Regions from separate parts of the Homo sapiens genome. Here all the other regions are linked to region 3. The links are contacts of gene promoters, found by promoter capture Hi-C in blood cells and fetal thymus (Javierre and others, 2016). All regions are on one chromosome and are shown on one strand. Each heading gives the region's core, a stretch centred on a gene start or on the middle of the fragment in contact. The rest is flanking DNA. Distances are from core to core; before and after follow the strand shown.

Evidence for each region. Contacts are between HindIII fragments. The CHiCAGO score rates a contact against its expected background, and 5 or more counts as called.
Region 1: a fragment that was not itself captured here is called in contact with the fragment with the promoter of TG in region 3 in 1 of 17 cell types (non-activated CD4 T cells); the score reaches 5.1 in non-activated CD4 T cells.
Region 2: a contact is called between a fragment that was not itself captured here and the fragment with the promoter of TG in region 3, in 4 of 17 cell types (activated CD4 T cells, total CD4 T cells, total CD8 T cells and 1 more). The highest score is 8.0, in activated CD4 T cells.
Region 4: a contact is called between a fragment that was not itself captured here and the fragment with the promoter of TG in region 3, in 17 of 17 cell types (naive CD8 T cells, naive B cells, activated CD4 T cells and 14 more). The highest score is 20.3, in naive CD8 T cells.
Region 5: a contact is called between a fragment that was not itself captured here and the fragment with the promoter of TG in region 3, in 14 of 17 cell types (activated CD4 T cells, non-activated CD4 T cells, M0 macrophages and 11 more). The highest score is 11.0, in activated CD4 T cells.
Region 6: a fragment that was not itself captured here is called in contact with the fragment with the promoter of TG in region 3 in 16 of 17 cell types (activated CD4 T cells, total CD8 T cells, naive B cells and 13 more); the score reaches 29.0 in activated CD4 T cells.

Annotation. Positions count from the first base shown.
Region 1 is chr8:133,388,471-133,393,192 of GRCh38, forward strand. It overlaps the pseudogene DPPA3P7. Among named protein-coding and RNA genes, the nearest start is that of NDRG1, 94 kb to the left of the region's middle. RefSeq lists an enhancer at 2,537-2,756. The HindIII fragment of the contact is 2,341 bases long and covers 1,393-3,733 here.
Region 2 is chr8:133,413,675-133,418,028 of GRCh38, forward strand. No RefSeq gene overlaps it. Among named protein-coding and RNA genes, the nearest start is that of NDRG1, 120 kb to the left of the region's middle. The HindIII fragment of the contact is 1,793 bases long and covers 669-2,461 here.
Region 3 is chr8:132,864,752-132,869,569 of GRCh38, forward strand. It overlaps TG (thyroglobulin), which reads left to right and starts at 2,207. Exons shown (of 48, transcript NM_003235.5): 1 at 2,207-2,316; 2 at 3,364-3,472. The coding sequence starts at 2,250. The HindIII fragment of the contact is 3,355 bases long and covers 1-2,764 here.
Region 4 is chr8:133,438,553-133,442,952 of GRCh38, forward strand. No RefSeq gene overlaps it. Among named protein-coding and RNA genes, the nearest start is that of ST3GAL1-DT, 130 kb to the right of the region's middle. The HindIII fragment of the contact is 5,719 bases long and covers 1-4,400 here.
Region 5 is chr8:133,474,774-133,479,572 of GRCh38, forward strand. ST3GAL1 (ST3 beta-galactoside alpha-2,3-sialyltransferase 1) reads right to left here. Exons shown (of 10, transcript NM_173344.3): 4 at 1,505-1,827; 5 at 946-1,301. The coding sequence starts at 1,251. Among named protein-coding and RNA genes, the nearest start is that of ST3GAL1-DT, 93 kb to the right of the region's middle. The HindIII fragment of the contact is 1,982 bases long and covers 1,571-3,552 here.
Region 6 is chr8:133,456,154-133,460,323 of GRCh38, forward strand. It overlaps ST3GAL1 (ST3 beta-galactoside alpha-2,3-sialyltransferase 1), which reads right to left. Exons shown (of 10, transcript NM_173344.3): 10 at 1-3,784. The coding sequence ends at 3,611. Among named protein-coding and RNA genes, the nearest start is that of ST3GAL1-DT, 110 kb to the right of the region's middle. The HindIII fragment of the contact is 1,203 bases long and covers 2,090-3,292 here.

The sequences.
Region 1 (4,722 bases), core at 1,313-3,812, 520 kb after region 3:
TATTCAGTAGGAGTTTAATAAATAGTGTGTAGCTCCTCAAAGGAGCTGCCCTTTAGGGCTTTTGGCAGATTTTCTTGAGATAAAGCCATACATAATCCAACAGCACAGAATGCTCAATAAATGCATCAAGTTCAAGTGTCCTGACTTAGCCCTGGAGGGGCGGAAAATCCAGTCCAAGAACATCTTTCCCACTGAGAAAAATGGTTGGAAAGGCTGTTTGCCTTACTCAACTGATGTTTTGTCTGAGCCTGAAGTACCACCATAGGCACAGTTGGGAGGGGAAGGCCGAGTCCTGGCAATACTTCTCACTGGTTTGAAACTCTGAGCTCTGGCCACAGAAGCACCATGTTTTCTGGGAGTAGCTATTGCCTGGAGAGAATGTGGTGAGAGTGAGACCTCATTCTTCCCTCAGCAGCTTCAGGAATAATAACACACAACAGCCTATGATGATAAAATCTATTATTAAGACTGTTTTAAGCACTTTGCATGAGTCAGCTCCTGGGTAAGATAAATACTATTCTTTTTTTTTTTTTTTTTTGAGACAGGGTATCACTCTGTCACCCAGCTAATTTTTGTATATTTTGGTAAAGGCAGGGTTTCACCATGTTGGCCAGACTGGTCTTGAACTCCTGACCTCAAGTGATTTGCCTTCCTCGGCCTCCCAAAGTGCTGTGATTATAGGCATGAACCACCACACCCGATAATCACTATTCTTATTCCCATTTGTAGATGAGGAAACTGGTACAGAGAGGTCAGATAATTTGCTGAAGGTCACACAGCTAGCTGGTGGTGGAGATGGGTGAGGTTTGAACTTGGGCTTTCAGGTTTCATAGTGTTCTCTAGTAACCCTCCTTCCCTGCTGCCTCCCACAAGCCAGTCTCTAGCCAATTCTTCTGTGGTTAAGGGAATCATTTTTCATGATACTAACAGACAAACATTCCTTGTTCAATGTTATTATTTTTCTGAATTTTCAAAGCAACTTTATATGGGTCCAGAGATGAGTAAGATAGCTTCCCTGGCCCTTGAAGGACTTATGCTCTACTGGAGAAGGAAAAATGAAGCTATAATTTCACTTTCTCCTTTTGACAGATGATGAAATATCAGGAGAGGCATGAAATCGACCCAAGGTCCCACAGGCAGGGAGTAAAGTTGGGATTCTACCCCAGGTCAGGCTGCCTCCTTTCCACGCTCCCAAGCCACTAGAGAATGTACTTTGGCAGACATGACAGCTGTGTGCTAATATTTGATGGACCCTTGAGGGGAAGAAGTTCTGCCTTCTTCTCTGCGACTCCAGAGGAGAGGACTACAGCCTTGGTTGGGATTTAGAGGGGACAAACAGAGATCTAATATGGAGCAGACTTCATGGAGGGGAGCTCATGTATTTCTGAGAAAAGCTTGTGTTTCAGGGACTACAGTGTATCTCTGGTGGTATAGAGAGACTAAGAATCCAGCCCCAGGTTAGCTCAGGACGAAGGAATGCAATATCTTCTTGCATCTGTTTCTGTCCTGTCTAAAATTGTAAGTGCTGTAAGGAAAATACCCAAGGCACTCATGTTTCCCCACACAGCAGGCAGCAGGCAGCAGGCAGCAGACTGCATCTTGATTGGGATAATATTATTCTGTAGGTTCCTTCCATGATTTCCTCATAAATTCACCCTCATGAAAATCCAAGAGGAGCTCAGTGTTTATGTAAGACCCTGAGCTTATTCTTCTTCCTCTTATGAAGTTAGATTAAATTAGTTAAGAAATGAAGAAAAAAGAATTTAAAAAAATTTCATCTCCTTTTCTCTGCATGAGTAAGTATGTTTGCATGAAAAATAACAAAATGAATCAAGGAAGGAAGAAAGAAAAAAAGGAAAGAAAGATGGATTCATGTTGCTGGGAAATGAATACATCTTAAGGAGAAAAATAGGCTGGCATGGTAAGCCTACCCACTGGATAATATCCATCAGAGATCAGGCAGCTGGAGAAGCACCAGTATTCACTTTCCTGTTCTCAGCTTAATGATCTGGTTAGGGAATATAGCCTCCATCAAATCTGGGATTCTAGAATCATACATGAATTGCTGTTTTTTTCCTCCCTCCTGAAAATGACCCTAGAGATTGCCCCCACAGGATTTAGAATCACGCGCACCTGGATTTCAATACTGGCTGTGCTTCTTGGTGACAAGACTTTGGGAAAGCCGTGTCATCCCTCTGAATCTTGGCTCCTCCTCTTGTGAAAGGGAAGGAGCAGTCACACCTCTCCATGAGATCATGTGAGGGTGAAATGAGATTGCATGTGAAATGCTCAGGAAATGAGCTTGGCTCATGATAAGTGCTTTTATACAAAGTTATTTCCTTCCTCTCTTTTAAGAAACTTTCCTAATTGGATTTTTTAAATTGTGAAATACTTTTCATTGTATTTAGCTAAACAGTAGAAAGTCTGTTTCAAAAAAAAGTTGATAAACTTTTTGTGGCAGGGAATGCTATTTGGCCATCCAACATCCATTATCCATTTCTGGGTTAGTAATAAAACTCTTATATTATCTGGGCTGCCCAAACGCTGTAGCATACAACATGATACAATACAATGTAACACAGTTACTGTGGCCAGCTAAAATAAAACTACATTTCCCAGTTTCCTTTGCAGTTAGGTGTGGTTGGTGGGACTTCTGGGATAGCTCCCTAAAAGAGGCATAAACTATTTCTTCCATGCTCCTGCCCGGGCATGATGTTGCAAGCACTGACTGTCATCTTAGACCACAGGTGGCTTGAGGATGGAAGGCCGTGGTTAAGGGCAGTGGAATAGAAAGGCAGACAGAGCCTGAGTGATGACCTAGAGCTACAGCCATATTAGTTCAGGACCATCTATTTCTGAACTTCCTTTACAAGAGAAAACTAAACTTCCTCTTTACTCAGCCACTTATTTTGGGGATTTCTGTTGTAGGAACCTGAATCTAATTATAACTGATGACACGTCTTTTCCTTCTAGTCCCCCCTCTTGACATAACAGGCATTAACAATTGCGTTTTTCTACACGTTTTTTTATGTTCATAGCAAAGATATTTTTATGTACACACCTGTATAAAATGGTATCATGCTCTATACCATACTTTTTCATTGCTTAGTAATATACATATCAAGGTAAAATTCCCAGATCAGGGTATGTAGATTTCTAACCTAATCCTTTTAACATTAGGCTATAAAATTATAGTATGGATGCATCGTAGTTTATTTTTTTTAAGTTACTCAAATATGTCAATTTTATTGTTTCTCTATACACACATTTATTTGATACTGAATATTGCAAAAAAAAAAATAGCACATCAAATTTCCTTTCATTGGTATCCAAATTTTTGAAAACCGGAAAATCTAATTATTATGCTCTAGCCAAACTACCCAATGTTTTCATTACATTCTTTCCCCACAAGTTACTTTGCATCAAATTCTTGATATTGGGTTTCATCTCACTGACTTTAGCCTTCTAAAATACATGGGAATACTTATGTCCTTTTCGTATTTCTTCGGGTCAAAACAGTGAGTAAAGGTAAAGTATACTGAGGTTATCCAAATACATTCAAACTACATACACTACATACATTACTGATTTCATGGTAGGAAGGAAAAAAAAGAAGAAAAATATATCATAGAACTCATTATCAAAATTATTTGTATACAATCCATTCTAGCATAGAGTAGCTTTCTCAACCTGCTACATAAAATTGCCAGCAAGAAAGAAAAGTATGAGAATAAGCTTTCTGGCTGAATTGGCTCAGTGCCATAATTCCCTATTCTAGCATTCTCAGAAGAATCCCATCTATGATACACATAGAAACCACAGCCACATTTGAATGGTTCACTTCTTGATCATTCTGAACTCCCTTAAGCCCAGTGTTTGTTTTCTTTCAAGCCTAGGAAGCCTGCTAAGTGACACGTATCTACATTTTAGCATCATTTCTTTCCATACAGACAGCAATGTTCTTACTCCCTCCTCCTGTAAGGTAAGCCATCTCTGATGTCCTGGAAGATCATTTCTCTTTTCTCCTATTGTTGGAGTGAACCTTCTGGTAGAGAGGAAGGGAATTTGATACCAGAGCTGAGAATCAAGTTTAAGGTTCTTTATCAATGTCTCGGAGCAGAAGTTATGAGAGGCCCTGAATTGTCCTGGGAATTTTCTTCAGTGAGCATTTTTGAAGGCTTTGGGATCAAAGTTGGGTTAAACTTCTGTGATGGGTCCATTGGCAATCTAGACACAGCACTAAGCTCCTCCTGGATCTTTGGAACCCAGCGGAAACTGATATCAGACTTTCAAATTGCCGCAAGATAGCCGGGAAAGAACTCTCTAGCCCAGAAAGAGCCTGAAAACCTGAACTCCAACAAATGGTAATGAAAGAACTGACCAGAAATTTAGGTCCCATCTCCTCTTAAAATACAGATAAGCCAATTATACATCGTAATTCATTCAATAATTGTCCTATTGCTGTACTGAGAAGGTTTCTAGTTGTTTTTCAGCTAACATAAACCTTGCTACAATAGACACATGGTACAAATAGCCTTGCCAATACTGCTTTTATTTTTTAGCACAGACGTCCACAGTGGGGTGAGTAGCTCTTTTCACTTTTACGTCTCCTCTACCCCTTCCTTTTGTAGCTGAGGCAAGAGAGGTCCTGAAAGATGGTGTGCCAAAGACAACAGAGAAATACAAAGCCAACAATGCCTCCAGAATCCTCCTGATTAGAAT
Region 2 (4,354 bases), core at 315-2,814, 550 kb after region 3:
TTCAAGTCCAGGTCAGCCAATTCCAAGACTGAGTTTTTAACCCACCTCACCTTTGCATCAGTTAGCATTAGGGGTTGCTGCATGTAACAGAAAACCCCAAGTTGTAGTTTCCTAGACAGGAGGAAAGTTATTTCTCTCTTATGCAAATGAAGCCCAGAGGAATGCAGCCCAGGCTGGCCTGGCCACACAGCAGTTTCACCAGGAGCCCAAGTTTCTGTTTTCTGTGTGCCTCCCTCAGTATATAGCTTCTGTCTTCGAGGTGTCATGGCCCAAGATGGCCTATATAGCTTATATAGCTCCAGTGAAACATGTATTAAGCACTGTTCTAAGCCCTACTGATAACATCCACATTCCACATCAACGACAGGGTGGGGCAGGTGAGAAGGGGCACTCTTTCCCTTCAAGGTAAATTGCTGGAAGTTTTATGCACAATTTTTATTGCTGTATAAGAAATTACCAAAACCTAACAACTTAACATGCCTGTATTACATCAGGTTCTGTGAGTTAGGAGTCTAGGCATGGCCTAGCTGGGCTCTCTACTTCAGGTTCTCATGAAGCTGAAATCCAGGTGACTTTGGCTGTGTTCTCATCAGAGGCTCAACTGGGGAAGCGCCTAGCATAATAATAGACTAGTAAGAAATCCACTCCTTTAAAACAGCAAGGATGCAAGCTTTTGCCTATCATACTAAGTTTACATTTATGTATGCCTGCTGCATTAGCACATCTCAACACACCTATTCTGTCTTTGGCATCCTTAATTTTTGTAGAGGCTGTCTCATCAGTTATAGTCAATATTTTTCTGGGCAATAACACAAAAACCAGGATGTTTCTTCAGTATATTCTTCTTCACAGACTTGTTCTGGCATCAGGTTTTTATTGGAAATGGCCTTGGCAAACTCATCAATTAATTTCTCTGTTGCTTCATCATCAGCAGATGCTTTATCATTACAAATCATTAAAAATTTAATGTCATGTCTTTTCTCCAAATTCTGCAACCATTTTGTTGAATTATCACAGTTTCCTTCGATTTGCAGTTCACTGGGATTGATGTTTGCTTGTTTCACGATCACCATACTATTAAGTGGCATGTGTTCACTGCAATGCTGAGAGATCCACTTTTTTCAAAACATAACTGAGACCTTCATTTTCAGCTTGATGCTAAAAATTTAGTGTTTTTCTATTTTTTTAATGTATGTTCATCATTTTCAGCATAGAACTTTAATGACTTATCATCTTGTTTCTTCAGGTTCTATATGGTGGACATTACAACACTACAGTCTTCTATAAGACGTTTCACACTTACACCATTGTCTAGTTTCTCCAACAGCTTTGACTTTCTGTGCTATAAGCATAAATGCTTTCTCTTTTTCTTATCATTCTTATCCATAGGGGTATCTGGAGGCCTTGTTGACATTTTCATCAATGTCTTTACACTACAGAGCAGAAAATAAGCAAATAAACCATGAGTAATGCATGATGGTCTTGGCCCCATGTGGTGCATCATGGAGAATCTGCTGCTGGTGCCTCCAGCCTGCACACATGTCAGGTAATTATCCTTTGTGTGCTTGCTTTCATGAGAAAATCTGGGCATACTCAGAAAAGATACATCATGGCTAAACAGGGCTGGGAGGATCTTTTTTCCCTTGGGGACACTGAAGAAACTATGTGTTGTGTGCCTGAGTTTTGACTGTGACCCATCATATGAGGTCAAGTGTAGCATTTTTTAATTTGTGGCATCATATTGACACTCAAAATGTTTTGGATTTTGGAGCATTTCCAATTTTGGATTTTCAGGTTAGGGATGTTCAACCTGTATAACAGCAACAACAAAGATGCATTAGGTTAAAAAAATAGGGCAGAGAACTGTATGTACAAAATGACCTCAATCATGTAAAACATATGTGCAATAAAAATAATATGAAAGATAAATTACAAAAATAATTACAATGTTTATATTTGGCTGATGAGATTCCAGGTGCATTTTCTTCCTTCTTTGCATATTTTTATGTTTCCTATATTTTACCTAATTGGCAAGGATTACTTCTAGTGTCATAAAAATGGAGGAGAAAGACAGACATCCACTTGCACTGACGGGGAACTGCATGAGTGGGACATGGTTGCAGTGGCAGCTGGCTTCAGGGCTCCCTCTGTCAAGCTGAAAAATGAGCATTCCTCCCAGAAAACCATCACCTAGCAAGGGGGGAGGGTCTCTGAGCCCATTAGGCTAGAGTTACTCTTCCCATTGCATCCAAAATGATCAGAAGTGGAAGAGTTGTTTTGAGGCTGGGACAGGATGATATGCAATCCATCAGGGCCCATATGATGCTCACCCATAGGCAACAGCAACCTAGGAAAAATTCTCTGCATCCTGCCTGCAGCTGATGCTGTCAATGTCCTGTCTAGATGCCCTCAGCGGCCTGTTGCTTCCTTCCCAAAGCACCTGCATGTATGTCTGAGCAGAAGCTTGCTCGTCCTGTGCAGAGAGCAGACCAGAGGAGCCCTGGAGTCCAGGAGCAGCCCGTAGACAATGACAGATAGGATTTGGTGGATACACGTCCAGCTCTTTCACCCACCAGTGCTGAGTCAAGCTCTCTGCTGTCTCCCAGAGACACCCAATAGGACTGAGCCATGGTGCTCACAGTTGTGACTGCTCGTTGGTGCATTCTGCATCGGCGTTCTCTTCCCTGCCTCACTTTCTTGCTCCTGGTGCTTCCTGAGATCATTTCCTGAGTAAACTATGGCCACATATCCCTGTGTTAGAGTCTGATTCTTGGGTAGCTCAACCTAAGATTTCACACCTCTCGCTGGCTCTGCTGCAGCCTCGTAAACATTCTTAGCTCCTCATATATCTTACCCCAGGGACACAGGAAAGGCAACTGTCAGCATAGGACATAGAGGTGGAGAGAACGCCAGAAATAGGCTAATGATGAACACTGAGTTCATTCAAATGTTGAAGTAGTTCAAAACAAACGTGAGACTCATGGCTCGGAAACAGACTGCAAGTAATTTTAAAAATCACTAATAAAAAGTACAATAACTAGGTGATGGAAACAGAGGAATATTATAAACATAGGTAGGGGCACAGGCTTTCTCATTTTACGTAGTGCGAACTTAATGCCACTGCTTGACATTGGAGCATGTAGCCAAAATCAAGAAAAGAAAAAAGAAATGCAACCTCAATGTTTTTCCTATTGACATATATTTTTAGTAGAAAAAATATTCAGAAAATAGCATCTTTTGCTGTACAAATTTTTATCAAGTTCCGCATTCTCTTGAATTTCATTGATATTTCCTTTTCTTCATTTTAATTTAAAATTTGAAGGGATACTCTAGTGATCTAGAGTATCTCATTTTTGTCAAAGTACTTCTATTATTAATTCAACGCCTATGTATTCGGCACCTCCTCTGTGCCGTGTGCTGTTCTAGATGCTGGAGATGCCTCAGGGAAGAAGGCAGACAGCCGTTCTCTCTCCAGGCGCTCTTGCTGTGGGGTCTCCGGGGTAGGAAAGACTTGCGGTCCATTCATAAACTGTATGCGATGATGTTTACCAAATAACAACAGTTTTTCTTCTGGGTGGTGGGATTTTGGATGACCTTTTACGATCTCTTTCTTCTTTACAGTATTGCTTGAACTTAAAAGAAAAATCATACATAAGTTTCACAAAAACACCAGCCGGGCATGGTGGCTCACGCCCAGCACTTTGGGAGGCCGAGGTGGGTGGATCACTTGAGGTCAGGAGTTCAACAGCAGCCTGGCCAACATGGTGAAACCCTCTCTCTACTAAAAACACAAAAATTAGCCAGGCAGGGTGCCGCACACCTGTAGTTCCAGCTACCCGGGAGGCTGAGGCAGGAGAATCACTTGAGCTTGGGAGGTGGAGGTTGCCGTGAGCCCAGATTGCACTGCTGCACGTCAGCCTGGGTGACAAAGTGAGACTCTGTCTCAAAAAAAAAAAAATAAAAAAATAAAAAAAAACCACAAAACTGCCTTTTTGTTTGTTTGTTTGACAATCCTTGGTCTCCAGATTTTCAAAGACCTCAGCCTGACACACAAGGCACTGGTGTCTGGGAACTGATGAGAGGATGTCAGCCGCTTGTCCCAGCACACAGCTGCGGGCCCCCTATGTTGCTGGAATAGAGCCATAGAGGCAGGGCCCAGTGTGTTCCCCAGTGTTTCCCTCCCTGAGAGAGCCCCCTTCCTTCTGGAGATGCCTCTCCTGCATTCCTCACTGACTCGTAAAGTGTCCCCCTGCCCCTCCCCTTGGCCAGGTACCCACCACATCAATGTCTTTCTGTATCTGGAACCCTTAATGCTCACTGCTGGTTTCAGCCTGTCTGCTTCCTTGCAGTGTCT
Region 3 (4,818 bases), core at 957-3,456:
TCTGGCTGGCTCGTTCTGAGCTGTAGGGATGTGACGGAGGCAGGAAGAGTGAGGATGCAGAGGAGGGGAGGACCAAGGAAGTAGAAATGAGCAGCAGCCTGGTAGGACCTGGAGGCTGGTAAGACTTGAGGGGAGAAGCCTAGGATGGGGCTCGGATTTACTATCACAGAGACAGCCAATGGGGTGATGTCAGGAGAAAGGTTGAGGAGTTCAGGTTGGGATATGTTGAATTTGAAATACCTGTAGGGTGTCCAGGCAGAGTGGATCTGAGCTCAAAAAAGTCTGGCTGGAGACTGAGCTAGAGAGAGATGTGGGAGTTCCAGGCATGTGTGGTCCCCAAGAAGGACGGGCAGAGCACGGGTTCTCCCCTGTTTTTAATCCCATACCCTGACACTTCAAATGACTGTTGTGTTTTACTTTCTCTAGTTTATATCAGGAACCCAACAATGATGACAGTAGCTGTTATGGACTGAATTGTGTTCTCCCCCCAAATCCATATGCTGAAGTCCTAAAACCAGGACCTCAGAATGTGACCGCATTTGAAGGTAGGGTCTTTAAAGAGGTAATTAAGTGCACAATGAGGTCACAAGGATGGGCTCTAATCCAATATGACTGGTGTACTTAAAAGAAATAAATATTAAGACACAAACACACACAGGGAAGACCAAGTGAGGATACAGGGAGGAGATGGCCATCTGCAAGCCCAGGAGAGGAGTCTCCAAAGAAACCAACAGTGCTGACACTTTGATCTTGGATTTCCAGCCTTCAGAACTATGAGAAAATAAATTTCTGTTACTTAAGCCACCCAGTCTGTGATAGTTTGTGATGACACCCATAGCAGACTAGTACAGTAGCTAACACTGGATACTTATTATGTGTCAAATACTGTTTTAAGCACTTTGCATATTTTAACACATTTAATATTCATAGCAACCCTATTTGTGGAAGGTAGTACAGTCTACGGCACGGCAGCTATATCGGCCCCTTTATTTTCCCCAGGGTTTGGAGTCTCTTCCACTTTCCAGCTTGTCCTCCTGCCCTTCACTCTACCCGGGACCATATCCTCCAGATTCTCACAGGTCCCTCCATCTCTCCTCAGGTGCCAGGCTCAGCAACCTGCCCTCATTACCTGCCAGTTCCTGACCCTATCTGTCACTAGCTCCTTACCTGGCTGGATTGGTCTTCTGAATACTTGCCATTCCCTGGCATGATGCTTTTGCAAAATAAGAAAATCAATAATAATAATAATAACTGCTAGTGTCTAATAAGCATGTGCTCTTCAATGTCTATTCTCTTACAACTACCTTAACAAATAGGGACATATTATTATTCTCCTTTTAACTTTGCTTTCCAGAGAAGGAGGCTGGGGCTCAGGGAGATGAGGTGAGTTTTTCCAGGTCTCACAGGAACAGGACTGAAGGAAGGAAGCCATGTTTGCCAGGAGAAACCAAATGGACATACAGGCTTTCTGTGGAATACACAGTTCCTGCTATCTTTTGGTTGACAAAGTCTGAGGTCCTAGGAAAGAGAGGAAAGTAATAGAAATATGAATATGAGTGTGTGTGTATTTTGCTTCCCTCACCAAAGTTTTCACAGTCTATATTAATGAGGGCACGATTTTGCCTGTTTTGTTCTCTGCCATATCCTCATTGTCTAGATTAGGTGCCTGCTACTGTGGAGCTCTAAGAGGTTGTTAGAGAAAGAATAGAAGAAAGAAAAGAAGGAAGGAAGGAAAGAAGGAAGAAAGAAAAGAAAGAGGGAAGGAAGGAAAGAAAGAAGGAAGAATGAAAGGAAAGAAGGATAGAAGGGAGAAAGGAAGGAAAGAAGAAAGAAAGGAAGAAAGGAAAGAAGGAAGGAGGAAGGAGAAGGAGAAAGGGTAGGGTGGGGAAGGAAAGAACAAAGGATTGCTTTTCCCTCACTGTGGGCTTGAGCCTGTTCCCTCCAAAGATACAGAGCTTTGGTCTTTACCCATAAAAAAGGATTTTGAAGTCACCCCACCCCGTTCTGTTCCCCCACAGTTTAGACAAGATCCTCATGCTCCACTGGCCACACGAGTGCCCTCAGGAGGAGTAGACACAGGTGGAGGGAGCTCCTTTTGACCAGCAGAGAAAACAGGATGGGGCACTGCCTCACTGAGGACCTGGGGGTGGGAAGGAAAGTGCCAACGGCAGCTCTATAAAAGCTCCCTGGCCAGGGGACCTAGGGCAAGCAGTGGTTTCTCCTCCTTCCTCCCAGGAAGGGCCAGGAAAATGGCCCTGGTCCTGGAGATCTTCACCCTGCTGGCCTCCATCTGCTGGGTGTCGGCCAATATCTTCGGTAAGTTCTGAGGCCATGGAGCCAGGCGGTGGGGAGGGAGCTCCAGTGTCAGCCAGGCTCTGCCCTGGGCCTTCGAACAGGTGCGATCTAATTTAATCTTCACAAATTCCCACATGTCAGTGATTTGCTTTTTTTTTTTCAGATGAAGAGGCAGATTTAGAGAGCCGAACTGAATTACTTGAGGTCACAGAGCTAGTGATTGATGGAGCAGAAATGGGAAATGTGGTTGATCTTCCTAATTCAATTCTAGGTCCTCCTCACCCCACCATTTTGGCAAACTTTTGGCATTGACCTTGGGTTTTTATCCCCTTAGCTATTCCAAAGTCTGTGTCATCCATAACAGGTATTTTAGAAGCAGTAGAAAAAGAAATCTACCTATGAAGTGAAATAGCCCTAAGTTCTGTCTTTGGCTCAGCCACTTACCCATATGACTTCGGGCAAAGTGCCAAGCTTCTGTTTTTTTTTTTTTTTTTTCATTTAAAAAGTAAACAAATAACACACACCTCATGATGCGGTTGTGATTTCTGGGTAGGACCCTATGTGTTACAAGAGTTCTCAATGGAAAAATAAGTCATGTACATTATTAATTAATTGGTATTTCAATGTTTATCTGGAACATGTTACATCTGCAGGGCATGGCTTGATAGATTCAAGAAGAACTTCCTTACGGTTCTCTAACTTACTCCAAATAGCCTCATGGGAATTGCGGCAGGGTGGGGGCGGGCGGGGAACGTGTAGTCCCAGCGTTGATTTTGGGATCCTTCACTTGCCAGTTACGTGACTTTGGGCAGACGACTTTCGCTGCCTGAGACTTGGTGCCTCATGAGTGACAAGGATATATTGCCTGTCACCTCTTAGGAGAATGTTGCACATTAAATGAGCTAATGTCATACTTGTAAGAAAGTGTGCTTAGCTGCCAAATTTTAAAATAGGCTGTCATAGGTAATGATGATGACCCTGGAAAAGCATCTGTGCTTATGAGAGCCCGTCTCTGTCCTGGCAGCCCAGTCCACACTCTTCTTTGATGAACCACTTTTCTTTTCCTAGAGTACCAGGTGGATGCCCAGCCCCTTCGTCCCTGTGAGCTGCAGAGGGAAACGGCCTTTCTGAAGCAAGCAGACTACGTGCCCCAGTGTGCAGAGGATGGCAGCTTCCAGTAAGGCTTATGTCAGCAGCGAACTCTCAAGGTCCAAGATGCCATAAAAAGCATCTTGTGCCTTCCCCCCTCTTCCTGAGCTCTGCCCTGCAACTCCTTTGTGCATGTGAGGCTTGGCCACTGTCATTTGGAGGTGCCTGCCTTTCAGTTCCACTGTCATTTGGAGGTGCCTGCCTTTCAGTTCCCCAAGCTGTTCAACACTGGACAATCTGACCAAGTGAACCCCAATCCATGCTTCATCCTCCCACTGCCCTCCCTTCTCTTCTTGCCATCACTTTTTCTGTGATGGCTTGAATAAACGGCACGTGTGGGGAGTGGGGCAGGTTGAGGAGAGTGTCAAATGATCTGTGCTTTGGGACCTCTCCCTCCTCCAAGTATCCTCTTGAGAAGCTGGGGTGGTGGAAGCAGAGGCTGCCTTGACTTCCTAGTCCTTAGCTGCCACCGACCCTGCCCGGACTAGCTCTCTAGGCTGCCTCTGGGCTTCTGGGTCGCTGTCTCCACATTGAGCTGCTCTCTGAAAGGGGTTTCTCCAGCTGCCCTAATGCAGACTTGGGGCCTGAGACCCTCTCTGTGGAGAGTGTGGTAATAATCTAGACAATTCTTCCCTGCAGAATAGACAGGAATCCTTTGCAATGTGCATGCATTGAAATTTCCTTGTGCTATTCCAGTCATGTTGAATCAGGGGAACTCCATTTATATAACTGCGTTCTGGGAAATGTCTGTGAAACCTCCCTCCCTGCTGCTATCTTATGTACACTCTTAATGTGCCTAACCTCCCACGAGTGTGCAGAGATGCTGCTAGAGCAGTCCCTGCTTAGATCACTGGGAATTCTGGAACAGCAAGGAAGGAGTTAAGGAGGAAGTCTCACTTTCACCAGCCTTATTTATATTCCCATTCCCAACTCTCTTGTTCTGGCCTCTTGCAGTTTCAAACCTGGCCTCTCTTCAGGAGGCTTTGCATATGCTGTTCCCTTTACCTGGAATATCTTTTACCTTCTTATACCTCTGACCATCCTGCAGGTCTCAGTTCAGTCATCATTTCTGGGGAGTCAACTCTATGGCCTGGCCTGACCCCACCCATGTGCTTCCCAATATACCCTGCTGGCCCCTGATCCCACTAACATCCCACCCCCAAGCCCCCACTCCCTATCCATACAATGTGGGCACTGCCTTTACCCTCTGCAGCCTCATAATGCCTGAGGACACTTGGTGGATGTGGCTGAAGCCCTGCACTCCAGGGTGGGTCACTTGTTTTGGGGCTGGCAGGCTGGACAGGTGGTGAATGAATGGCTGGGGCAGGAGGCAGAGCAGGTGCTAGCCAGGCAGGAAAAGTGGGGCCTTTCCTT
Region 4 (4,400 bases), core at 1,464-3,963, 570 kb after region 3:
AAATTTTAATATAATATTTATATTCATAACATGAATATTATAATAATATAAGATTCGCATTTAATATAATAAATATAAATTTGTTTATTATTTTTAGTTGTTTTTTAAGTTGAGGTGAAATGTGTATAACATACTGTTAGCCATTTGGAAGCGCAGTACTTAGTGGCATTCAGTACATTCACAATGTGTAATCACTATTTCTATCTAGCTCCAAAATATTTTCATCCACCCCAAATATAAGCCTGTCCCCACTAAGCAGTCACTCCTCATTCTCCCCAACCCATGACACCCCTCCCTCCCCCAACCCTGTCAGCCACCGGTCTGCTTTTTGTCTCTATGGATTTACAAATTACGGATATTTCATATAAATGGAATCATATGACATGTGACTTTTCCTACCTGGCTTCTTATACTCTGTATGATGTTCTTGGGGCTCCTCCACACTGCGGCATGTACTTCATTCCTGTTTATGGCTGAATAATATTCCATCTTATGGTACAGTCGGCCCTACCTATTTGTAGATTCTGTATCTATGGATGCAACCAACCACAGATTGAAAATATTTGACAAATTTTCATCTGTGCTACATACGTACAGACATATTTTCTTGTCATTATGCCCTAAACAATATGGTATAACAGCTATTTAAATAATATTTACATTGTATTAGGTATTATAAGTAACCTAGAGATGATTTAAAGTATACAGGGGGATGAGCATAGATCACAATATATGCAAATACTACAGCTGTTTATATCAGGGACTCAAGAATTTGCTAATTTGAGTATCCATGGATTTTGTTTTTATGGATTTTGGTATCCGAGAAGCACTTCCCCACAGAAACTGGGTGATGACTGTATATGCCATAATTTGTTTATCCATTCTTCTATTGGCCATTTTGATTGTTGCCACATTTTGGCTATTGTGAATAGTGTATGTGTTTATTTAAGTACCTGTTTCCTATTATTTGGGGTTTATGCCTAGGAGTAGAATTGCTGGGTCATATGGGTAACTCTATGTTTAACTTTTTGAACTTCATGTTTAACAGCCAAACAGAAGCTGCACAATTTTACATTACCACCAGCAATGCACAAAGACTCCAATTTCTCCACATCCTCACCAACACTTGTTAGTTTCCATCTTTTCTATTATAGCTATTCTAGTGGGTGTGAAGTGTTACCTCAGTGTAGTTTTGATTTGTATTTTCCTAATGACTCATATGTTGAACATCTTTTTAATTACTTGTCATCCATTTATATATCTTTTTTGGTGAAATGACTATTGACACCTTTTGCCCATTTTGAATTGCCTTTTTATTGTTGAGTTTCAAGAGTTCTTTATGTATTCAGGATATTGGGCCCTTATTATGATTTGCAAATATTTTCTCCCATTCTTCAGGTTGTCTTTTAAAAAATGATTTATAATGCTAGTTAGAAATAATTTTAAAAAGTTGTGTAGTAGTAGCTTTTGTATTGCCTTACTTACTGTTTGTTATTTATTTATTTAGGACACTAGCTATGTTCTAGCAACTGTGCTAAGAGCTTTACATGCCCTTCCCTTCCCTCCCTCCCTCCCTCTCTCTCTCTTTCTTGTCTCTCTTTCTTTCTATTTCTTTTTCTTTTTTTGAGACAGCGTCTCACTTTGTCATCCAGGCTAGAGTGCAGTGGCATGATCATGGCTCACTGCAGCCTCAGCCTCCTGGGATCAAGTGATCCTCCTGCTTCAGCCTCCCAAAACATTTACATGTATTTTATAATTTATTCTGGAGGTACAGTCATTTTTACTTTAAAGAGGCGGAAATGAAGGAGCAGAAGGGCTTTGCATGTGTTTTTCTGCCTGCCTGGACATCCTTCTCTGGCCTCTTCACTTGGCTAACTACTGCTGTCTTCCCATCTCACCCAGCCCTTCTGTCTCCTTCCATCAGCCTGGGCTTCCTCTAGCAGTGAGAGGTGTCTTCTGGGTCCCTGAGGCATCCTGCCCCCTTCCTATCAGGCTTGTTCATTCAATGATAATGTTCCCCCACTAAGCACCCACCAACCCCCCGACTCCCTGACTGCCAGGACCAAGGGCCTCTCTCTGTGTTCCATAACACCACATGCAGTGCAGTGCACAGTGAATGTTCAATAAGGTGTATCTCCTAGATGAAGGTGCTCACTGCTGTTGAAGGGGATTGGGAAATGTTTCAGTGTGGAGAGTAATGGTTATAGAATAACAAGCCAATAAATAAAATCCAAAAAATACATCACCCTCTATTATTGCAATTCTGTTAAAATACACCTGCATATATAAGGAGGGGGGAAGAAGGAACCACCTACTGGGTTCTTAACTCTCCCGCCCTCCAGGCTTTCCCTCCCTTCCTCTCTCCTCCCCTCCTCACCTCTCCTTTTCTCTCTTTTCTTCTCTTTCTTTCCTTTCCTCTTTCTTTCTTTCTTTTCTTTCTTTCTCTTTCTTTCTTTCTTTCTTTTTTTCTTTCTTTCTTCCTTTCCTTTCTTTTCTTTCTTCCTTTCTTTCTCTTTCTTTTTCTTTCTTTTCTTTTTCTTTTCTTTCTCTCTCTCTTTTTTCAAAAAGAAAGAGGAATGGCCTTGTATTTCTGTAAGAGAATCCAGTTAGAACTTCTGGAGCTTTTGGGCTCTTTTGGGATGCCCAGGTGGCTATTGGTGAGGCATCTCAGACTGCCCTCTTTTGAACAATAGAGCTGGCCGTCCTCGAAGCTATTGGGTGCCCACTGCCCACCTGGGGGAGGGGGGCATTGAACCTGGGAGTGCAGCTAACCCCTGACCAAGTCTTTGTGACAAAAAAAAAAAAAAAAGCCCCAGAGCTTGAACTTGAACTTGGGTCTTCCTTCCCTTCCCTCCTTCCTTCCTTCCTTTTTCTTTCTTCCTTCCTTCTTTCTTTCTTTCTTTCTTTCTTTCTTTCTCTCTCTCTCTCTTTCTTTCTTTCCCTCCCTCCCTTCTTTCCTTCCTTCCTTTCCCTCCCTCTCTCTCTCTCTCTCCTTCCTTCCTTTTTTTTTTTTTTTTTTTTTTTGAGACAGGGTCTCACTCTGTCACCCAGACTGGAGTGCAATGGGATGATCTCAGCTCACCGCAACCTCTGCCTCCTGGGTTCAAGTGGTTCTCCTGCCTCAGCCTCCCAAGTCGCTGGGATTCCAGGCATGTGCCACCATGCCCAGCTAATTTTTGTATTTTTAGTAGAGATGAGATTTCACCATGTTGGCCAGGCTGATCTCGAACTCCTGACCTCAAACGATCCACCCGCCTCAGCCTCCCAAATTGCTGGGATTACAGGCATGAGTGACCGCGCCCGGCCGGGCCTTTCTATTATAAATTGATTCAGTCCAAACCAGTTCAATTCCTCACACACATTATGTGCCTGAACCGGTCTCTCCCCTCATCTCTGGGGATCCAGGGTAGTCCTGGTTTTGCAGGATCTCCAGGCCATCTGGGGAGACACATGCTTCCTCCCTTAATCCCAATACGAGTCAGACTGTCTGGAGAGTGTGAGAAGTAGGCTGGACACTGCACCTGGGCTCCCTCATCCTAAGTCTCGGGGTGGAGTGGAGGCAGATATTTCACTGCCAGAGCCCGTGCTGACTTAGTTGCTCCTTGTGGGATGTTGCTTAACTGAGAGCAAGAATGCAAAGACATTTTTAAAATGTGCATGTTATTCAAATACACGTTCAACTACCACTCCAATGTTTTTCTTTGTGATGGCCCTTAAGATTTCCCTGTTGGCCTCACTCTGCACCCTTTGGTGGCCCCCAGTTTTCTTGGGATAAAGCCCATTTTTCCTAAAAGACCCAAAGGGGCCTGGATCCTGCACCCCTGCTCCCATCTTTTGCCACTGCTTCCCTTGTTCCCAGGGTCACTGGTACGAAGATCATCTGCCTTGTGATTGTGCCCTACTCTCCCTCAGCACTGGGACTTCACAGTGCTCTTCCCTCTGCCTGGCACACTCTCTTCCCCATTCCGTGCTTGGCTAACTCTTATCCCTCACATGTCAGCCTAATGGCCTCTTCCTCCTGGAAGTCCTCCTCCTCCTGGAAGTCCTCCATGACTTCTCTAGGCAAACTCAGGCTCTGTACTCTTCCTTGGTCACTTGTCACACTGTCTTCTGGTGGCTAGTTTGGCCATCTCCATTGGGAGAATGCAAGGATTTTATCAGGGCAGTAAGAGCCTCTGACAGCTATTACAGTGCTGAGACCAATGAACTTGGCTGGAATGAATAGATGTGGTAGCTATCCCCAGGTTCTTGTGGGGCATCTGAATCCTCAGGTAAGGGCCAAACCAACTGTTATCTACCCCAGAGGTTGCAGCCAAGACTGAGGCACTCATGTGCAGGGAGGTTGTTGGTGGTTGCAGGAGGCAAGTCCCCTTCTTAGCTGACAGCTCTCCAGCCTCCTT
Region 5 (4,799 bases), core at 1,312-3,811, 610 kb after region 3:
GTCTCAGAGACCTCCCTGGTGACCCCATTTACAGAAGCCCCCTCTAAGTTTCTATGACAAACCTCATTGGATCTGTCTTCAAAGCACTTCTGTGTGAGCCTACCTTGTTTATTTCTTATCTTCCCCTCCCAGCCAGAATAAAATTCCATGAGAATAAGGATCTCTCTCTCTTTTTGCATTTCAATAGCTGTAGTGGGTGAAATAGTGGCTCCCAAAAAGATACGTTCAAGTGCTAGTCACCGGAATCTGTGAGCATGACATTTGGAAAAAGCGCCTCTGTGGGTGAAATTGTTGAGGATCTCTGCATGAGATCATCCTGGATTAGGGTGGGCCCTAAACCTGATGACAGGTGTCCTCATAAGAAAAGGAGAGGGACATGTGAGACATAAAGGGATACAGGGAGGAAGGCCCTGTGGAAGTGGAGGCAGAGGCTGGACTGCTGCAGCTCTGAGCCCAGGAACGCCCAGCACTGCCGGCAGCTGGCAGGAGCCAGGAGCGGGCCTGGGGCGGCTTCCCCCTCAGAGCCTCCAGGAGGAGCCAAGTCTGCCCATAATTTGTTTTCAGACTTCTGGCCTCCAGAGCTGCAAGAGGATGCACTTTTGGTGTTTTGAGCCATGAATTGTGCAGAAATTTGTTATGGCAGCCACAGGAAACTAAAGCCGTGCTTCCTGCTCTGACTTAGATATAATAGATCCTCAATAAATAGTGTGGGACAATAATCTGAATCCTACTAACTGCCTGGCAGGGCCCCAGGTGTACACGGGGACTGAGCATTTAACTCTGAGAGCACCTCACTCTCATTACCAGACCCCTACCCTCAGCCCAGACTCCCACTTTCAGCCCAGGCCTCCCACTCTTATCCAGATCCCCACTCTCAGCCCAGACCCCACTCTCAGTCCACACCCCAACTCTCAGCCCAGACCCCGCTCTCAGGCAGCATCTCACCAGCCACCATCGGTAGGTGTCGTCCTCCAAGAGCGCGTTCTGGGCGGTCAGCAGCGGCTGCATGGTCTGGTTGAACCTCTCATCGAACCAGGCCGAGAGCTTGCGCTGCCCGATGCAGTGGGTGCAGGTGCAAGGCCTGTGCTTGATCAGTCTCTTCAGGTTCTCGGAGAGCTCCAGGACCATCTGCTTGGGGAACCAGGTGGTGGCCACCATGGTGTGGGAGTAGTTCAGGAAGAAGGAGGTGAGGAAGATGAAGAGCACGAGGAAGGTGAGCACTTTCAGGGTCCTCTTCCGCAGGGTCACCATCTTCGCAGTCCTGATGGTGGCCTCCCACGATGGGTAGCAGGAACTCCCTCCTAAGAGAGGAGAAAAATGGAAGAAAAATCCCAGAGGTGGAGGCTCAATCAAAAGGGATGGCAGGAATTCCAAGGGAGGACACAAGGGCCGCTAAGCTCGACTTCACTCCTGCTGGGGGATGACCCCCAACTGTGTCCCAGACACGGCTGTGTGGTAGACCAACGCCATTCGTGGCATGTTGGCTTTGCTTGCATATATTTACCTTTTCAGAAAATAAAGTAGCCTATTCTTCTGCAATCCTTAAAGAGCTGATAATGTCTCTCGATCAAGCTTTAACCAGTGATTTCCTTTCACATCCAAAGAAGATAAGGGGTCATTAATCTCTGTGACAGTCCAGGGTCCCTCAGGAGCGAGGACCTCGAAGGAAGGGTGTTGGTATAGCGGGGAGGGAAACTGTCTCTGCCGTCCTCCTCCAACTGTGGTTTCTGACGATCCTTAATTAGGGCTTTTTCTTTCCCATCCTGTCGCCAGGGACATGGTGGGTACACAACCAGCTTGATGAAGGCACAGAAGGTTGTCTGTCATCTGCAAAGAAAAGGAGGAAGAAAACAGCGTGAGATTCTGTGATCCTGCTATAAAAAATGTTTCTCTCCACATCTCCACCAGGACGTATTCCGTGGTCTTCCTTCTGGTGTCATGCCAACCTGGCAGGTGGCTCTGGATGGTTTATCTACCTTTGTGAGCCTGAGTGCGTGCATACAATGGATGTTATCATCTCTTTGCAAGGTTATTATGGGATGCAGAAGGTGTCCCCTCCATGTTTCCAACAAGAACCTAGCACATTGACACACTCAACAAACATTTGTCAAAGAGCTCGTGATGCATGTAGGTACAATATACACAGGAATTGTTAAATGCATGTTATTTGCCTTTCTCTCTACTTCATTCTCTTCCAGATTTTGGATTTCAGCAACAAGCACAACAACAATGGTATGCTTAGAGAGTGGCCCAGGGTTCCTTTTACCTGGGCATTCAAGCTCTGCCAATTGGCCTCAGTTCCATAAAAAGGGGCTTTAGATGGTCCAGGTTCAAGTTCTGATTTCCCAGCTGTGGAGCCTTGGGAAAGTTATTTGACCTTCCTGACCCTCAGTTTCTTCTTCTGCAAAGTGGGATACTAACACCCCTACTTATAGAATGGTTATGAAGATAAGATAAAATGATGTATGCTGGGCTTCTGGTATCTATTAGGCCATTGCTGAACTTTAATTTTTCTTCTTCAACATGTGAATGAATCAATATTCTCTGATGATCCACTAAGAGCTGAGAGGATGAGATATTCATGCATACGTATCTCTTCAGATAATCCTCAGAATATACTGTCAGCTAGATATTAGTTTCCCTTTTTGTCTTGGAAGAAACTGAGACTCAAAGTGCTTAGATGACTTGCCTAAGGAAAGGAAGGAGCAGGATCCGAGTCCAAATCCACAGTCCTCTGATTCCTTACATCGGGAGGGGTTGGGGGACCAGGAACAGGGGGTTGGGGGGCTCTACCCTGGAGCAGACACCTGTCTTGTTAACTGGTCTTCAGATTACTACGGCTGGAGGGATATAGAGCAAGGGGGGAGTATTCTTTTGAAGAAGGCAAACAGGTACCTCTCAAATGCCCATCGGAGACCCCTCTGGCTCTCACCGACACCTTGGGATTTCTGTATGGTACAACTGTGGTTGCACGTCTGCCCTGGAGCGTGGTCTTTTTGGTCTTTGCTTGGAATGCTGAAGAATGGAAGAAATCTGATCGATTCCTCCCCATTCTCAAGGTGTAGATTGTCAATAAGCAGGGTATATTTTTTTCCAGGAAAATTAGAGTTGAAAGGAGATTGATCACCTTTTGGTAGAAAGGGGGACAGCTCCAAAACCATATTAAATCCACAGTGCCCTTCTGAAGACATCCAGGGCCCAAGATGCATAGGGTGCAACCCTCTACAGCTTCCAGAACTAGAAGCCCAACGTATGGAGGACAAGGTCTGAGCTCTGCAGCTCAGTTGGCAACGTCATTTTTATCCGGTCTCTGCTCCAGTTTTCACTTTTCATGACAACCTAGATTTTGTTTATAACCTAGTGGTGTCCACAGGTATCCCATCCAATTCTCTCCCCACCTGCCCCCATCAAGGAGCAGCTCTGTAATTTAAGTAAGAATAACTTCTGCATCATCACAGATAGGCTCACAATTCACTTGACTGGCAGAGGGTTCCCACCTCTTACCCCAGTAATTGATCCAGGGATGGGCATGTGCCTTAATTCATCCAGCCAAGCTTCTGTAGGGAGGGAAGAAACTTTCTTTTGCTCTGGCTGGCTTGTTGTTGACATGTGGAACATCCTGCTGGCTATTTTGCTAGCGTGTGTAGAAGAGACTAGAGCTGAACAACCCGAACAAATGGTGCTAAATCCCTGATCCTGCTCAACCTGCAGCCCCACCCTCACCTTGACTTTTCAGTTACATGAGGGAATAAATCCCCTTTATGGGGTAAAGTAGGTTATTTGTAACTTGAAGCAATGTGACTGACCCAGAGGTCACAGTTGCTCCTACCTCCGTGTCCCTGCTCAGGCTGTCCCCACTGTCCAGAAAACCACCCCACCCTGCTTTGCCGATGGCTCTTACTCATTCTCTAGGGCTCAGCTGGTGCTGACTCCTGGAGGAAGCCCTGCCCTCTCCTGGGGTGAGTTAGGGGCCTCTCCTGGCTCCCTAGGGTCCTGGCTGCACTCTGTCTGTGCTCTTCACACATATGTCTCCTCCCTGGACTGGGAGCAATGTGAGGATGGAAACTCAGCCTCACTATGGCAGTGACCCTGTCACCCGTGCACACACTCAATGCTCAGTGGAGGCTTGGGTCATGAAGAAACCCAGAAATGAATGAAGGGAAACAAAACGGCCAACAGTCCAGAGGGAGAACTGAGAAAGAAAGCACAGACTCTGAGTCACATTTCCATTCTCAGCAGCCTGTCCCACACTACTCACTGCGTGACCATGAACAAGTCACCTAGCCCTTCCGAACCATCCCTTCAATGGGAAAAACGGATTGATAACACAAATTCTGCTCATTTCTCGGGGCCGTCAGCCCATCAAGGTTGTCCATTCATCTCATTCATTGACTGCATATTTGCTGGTCCTTGCGTTCTCCAGGCCCTGGACAAGGTGGCTGGGGTGCATCGTAAAAGGATCTAAGGTAGGCGCCTCCCAGGCATCAATAGGGCCCCAGACCCTGTGGAGCAAAGGAGGCCTGTATGGCTGGATCAGACACAGTGTGGAGGAGAGGAGTGGGTGGGGGGTGAGGGGGAATCTGAGCATGCAGCTGGGGTGAGAGTGTGTTGGGCCAGAGAAGCCACAGTCAAGACTAAGTTTTCTCTGGGTGACATAGAAACCTGCTGGTGGGGCTGAGCAGAGGAATGCCATGGTCTTACTACATTTGCCTTTATAATGAGCAGGGCCTAGGACACCCTTGCCCTTAGTGCCTCTGCACCCCTAATGCCAGGGCAGAGATGAGTTCCCTGAAACAGAT
Region 6 (4,170 bases), core at 1,441-3,940, 590 kb after region 3:
TTCTTCCAGCCCAGGATCCCTGCAGAGAACCAGAGGTTACAAATCTGCCCTCCTTTCTCCCCTAAAAGGTGGCTGAGGGGAGGAGAGGTGCATGTAGCTCCAGCTATAGCAAATCAGTGCCCTGACTCACTGGGGAGACCCAGGGGGTTGGGATGTTGCTGACACCTCATGGGCCACCTCATCAGCCCATCTTTGTAGCTTCAGGTTCAGCTCTGGGTGCTGCAGGCAGGGACCCCTCTGCTCCCTGCCTGAATGCAGGGCCAGTCTCCAAGGAACTCTGTCTGCAGAGTAGAAAGAGCTGTGGGCTGGGAATCAGGGGCCTGAGGGAGCCCCTGCCACTGCCTGCCCAGAACCAGTGCTCCTCATTCTCCTGCTGACAGCATGCATGTGCCTTTTGGCTAACACACACTCTTGTCTAATTCCCAGCCACCTTCACCCCAGGGATGAGTTCCAGTTGGTTTAAGCCAGACTGGTGCATTTAATTCTGGCTGCAACAACTGGATTCTGTTAAGTGCCCATTGCTAAGCCAATGAGCTATCTGCTGGGCTGTGGGAAAGAGAAATGCAGTCTCCTGCACGGGAGGGTGTGAGAAGGCCACCCAGGCAGCCTGCAGCTAGAGCTCGGCGCTGAGAGAGCACAGGAGAGTCAGACACCTCCATTCTGGTTACACTTTTTCCAGATGCTGAATGGAGACTCGCTGGGAAAGCCCGCCTCCAGACAATTTCAACATAGCGCCGGTAACACCCTAGTTTTGCTCAAACTCTGACTTGTGCTATCTGTCCCAGACAGTTCACGACTGCCCGTCACTTCCCTCCTTCACACTGCACCAGGAAAAGGCCACACCTCCCTACACAGCAGCAGCCTTTTAGGAAATGTGCTCTACAGGAAAAGTGGTTTTTCTGATTAAACATCAGGAACTAGAGTCAACAATCGCTGTCCTCTCCCGTGCCTGTCACGCTCCACTCCCCACCCAGCTGCAATGTGGCCTTGATTTTCTCATCAGTAAAATGGGAAAGCTGGATTTGGAGGCTGGAAGAGATCTCACAGCTTGACCACCCTAGTAGGAGGGAGGGAGACCAGACGGAGGCCAGGCAACCGACCCAGGCAGCATCTGGCTCAGACGCAGACACATCTTCATGTTGAGGGACCTATTCTTACACAGCAAAACCCAGAGAAGTCGACTGCTCAGCCTGAGCCTGTCATCCCTATATAGACTCAGCTTTTAGGAGAAGAGGGAGAGTTGAGGAGATAGCATCGCTCTCTGTATCAGTGTCTGATGATCTGGAGTCTGCCCCTGGGGTCACTCAGTCACTCAACAAACATTTGTTGAGCTCTTAACGTCATATATGGGTGTGAGCTCTGCCCTTCGAGGCTGTATGTTCTGAATGATGACTCAGTGATTTACCAGCCTTTCTCAGAAAAAAGAAAAGTCTTTAAAGTTTTGGAGGATTTTAAAGCTGAAACAGGTTTTCGGTTTGTTTAACACATTCCCCATTCTGAACCTTTGAGAATCTAATAAAAGCTATGGTCCTTTCTCCAGAAAAATGCTCATATGCAGAGATTCAGGGAAAAAACCAAACTTGGCACGCAACTTCCGGGGACTCTTGTGAATGGCCTGAAGCCACCTGTGACCCATGACTGATGTCCCCAAGTTCCTCCCTCCCCGTGTGCAGAGGGGGCTCCCCCGAGCCTGGGAGCACAGGCCCCATGCCTCCGTCACACTCCACCAGGAAAAAGTCACGCCTCCTCAAAGCAGCAGCGACCTTTTCAGGGATATTTTCAACAAGAAAGTGGTTTTTCTGCTTAAACATTAGTAACTGGAGCCAACAATCACCGTCCCCCACATTCCTGTCACTCTCCACTCCACACCCAGCAGCAATAAGGTTTCACGGAGTTTTGGAGACTCCTAGCCTGAGAATAAATCCAAGTCCACAATGAGGAAGAAGGAAGGTTGGGTTGGGACGGGAGGATGCTGAGGACATTCCACAAACCATCCAAGCCCTAGATACCCCCAATATCCCACGTCCGAGGACTCCTACAAACCTCCCTTAAGCACCCCCACCTAATTTCCCAGCTACTGGGTGAGGCAAGCTTCATTAAAACACCAGGACCACCAACAGAGCCAGGGTGCAAACAATGTCAGTTGAATAAAAAAAAGAAATCAATAAATAATCAGGAAGGCTAATGAGGAAAAGAGAGTAGCTGGGGAGTAAGAAGATGAGGTATGTGGCAGTTACCATTCCTGGGATGTCCTTGACCCAGACCCCCAGTGACAGCCCCAAGATGGCCAGCAGGGACTTGACCCTGAGCTCAGGCCCTTGGGGAAAATGCTGCTGGCAGCCTCCTGTGTGGCTTTGGAGGTTACGGGCACCATATTGAACAGTCTGAGAATGAGAATGTACGTTCCATTCTGACGCACTGCTGGGTGGTGTTGAGTATCCTCAGAGCTTCGTTGCAATTCAGGTGCTGGCTCAGGAAACCAGAAAAGATGTTCCCAGCTACGGAGCAAGCAGGGCCGCTGGTGGGGGTCCCTTTTCCCAAGTAAGGGCTTTTGTTTCATTTCAGCCAATGCATGCTTTTCTTTCCCAAATACAAAGGCACATGGAAGTGGTCAGATCCGCTCTCGCCACGATTAGAACCATGAGACTGACTACTCAAAGGAACAACTGCTTGGGAAGAGGCATCTGCAGGAGTCAGAAACACGGTGCCAAGTTTGGGGTTTTTTTTCTTTTCTTTTTTTTTTTTTTTCAGAGACAGGGTCTCACTCTGTTGCCCAGGCTGGAGTGCAGTGGTGTGATCACAGCCCACTGCAGCCTCGAACTCCTAGGCACAAGAGATCCTCCCTCCTCAGCCTCCCTAGTAGCTGGGGCTACAAGTGTGTGCCACCGTGCCTGGCTAATTTTTTTAAATCTTTTATTTTTGTAGAGACAGGAGTCTCACTATGTTGCCCAGGCTGGTCTTGAACTCCTGGGCTCAAGTGATCCTCCCGCCTCGGCCTCCCAAAGTGTTCAGATTACAGGTGTGAGCCACGGCACCTGGCCTCAAGTTTCTGTGAAAATCTTTGGGGTAGGAGCCTCTGGTGGCTCATAAATGAGCTTTGGGAAGATGACAGGGTTATCACGCCAAGCAAGAGGCCAGGCTTCGTGCAAAGAAGGGCAGCATCTCGCCCCGAGCGCCAACACCGCCTGGCACGTCTCTGTGCTGGAGGTAATCGCCACTCAAGTCTCTGCCCATCTTCCTGGGAAACTGTCCTGTCTCTCAGAATATAGGCATCTTCCACATTCATTCCCCAAGCTTGCCCCAGGAGCCAAAATGATTTTAGTGTGTGGAGGTTGAACCTTTCCCAGCGTCTCCCCAGCTCTAGGGCAGCAGTGGGGGGACGTTGTCCCCACTCAAGACAGGTTCCAAGACATGCTCTGCCACGCTGGCAGAGCTTAGTGACCTTGCTGAGTAGATGCTGCCAACGGCTGGGTGCAAGAGGCTGTGAGCGGTGCCCAGGCACACACCTGAGGCTGCCCCTCCAAGCTCCGGGATGGAACGGCTCCAGCAAGATGCTGGGGCTGGAAATGCAGAGGTGTGACAGTGCGTCCATCCTCAGCCCTTCACTGCGTCATCTCCCCTTGAAGATCCGGATTTTATTGATGGAGGCCAAGGTGGCCGTCACGTTAGACTCAAAGTCTGCATCGTGCACCCCCGTCTTGCGAAAAGCCCCCGCGGATGGGTTGTTCTCCCAGTAGTGGTGCCAGTTCCCTTTGCTGTCTGCCCCGAAGCCGTACAAGTCCACCTGTGGGAGCAAAGCAAAGATGAGAACCAGACAGCAGGGCTGCTGGTGGCACCTCTGAGAAAGGAAGCCTGTAGGCGTTCCTGGAATCCCACAGGACCATAAACAGCATTTCCAAGGACTCTGACTAACCCTTCATTAAAAACCCTTCTCTACGTTCCTGGAACTCTCAGAGTCTTGGTGAAGCAAATGCAAGTTAAGTAAAACTCAAGTCTAATTCCAGAAGCACCCTGAGAGATTACTGCATCTGGGTGGTCTCAGGGGCCCGGGTCTTACCTCTGCAGCAAGTGCAACCTATTCTCCCAGGATTGAGGAGCTACAGAGGGAAGGAATAGGAAGGAGGGCGTGGAATGGAAGAGAGTGGAAGGAGAGCAGGGCTTTGGGGCCAA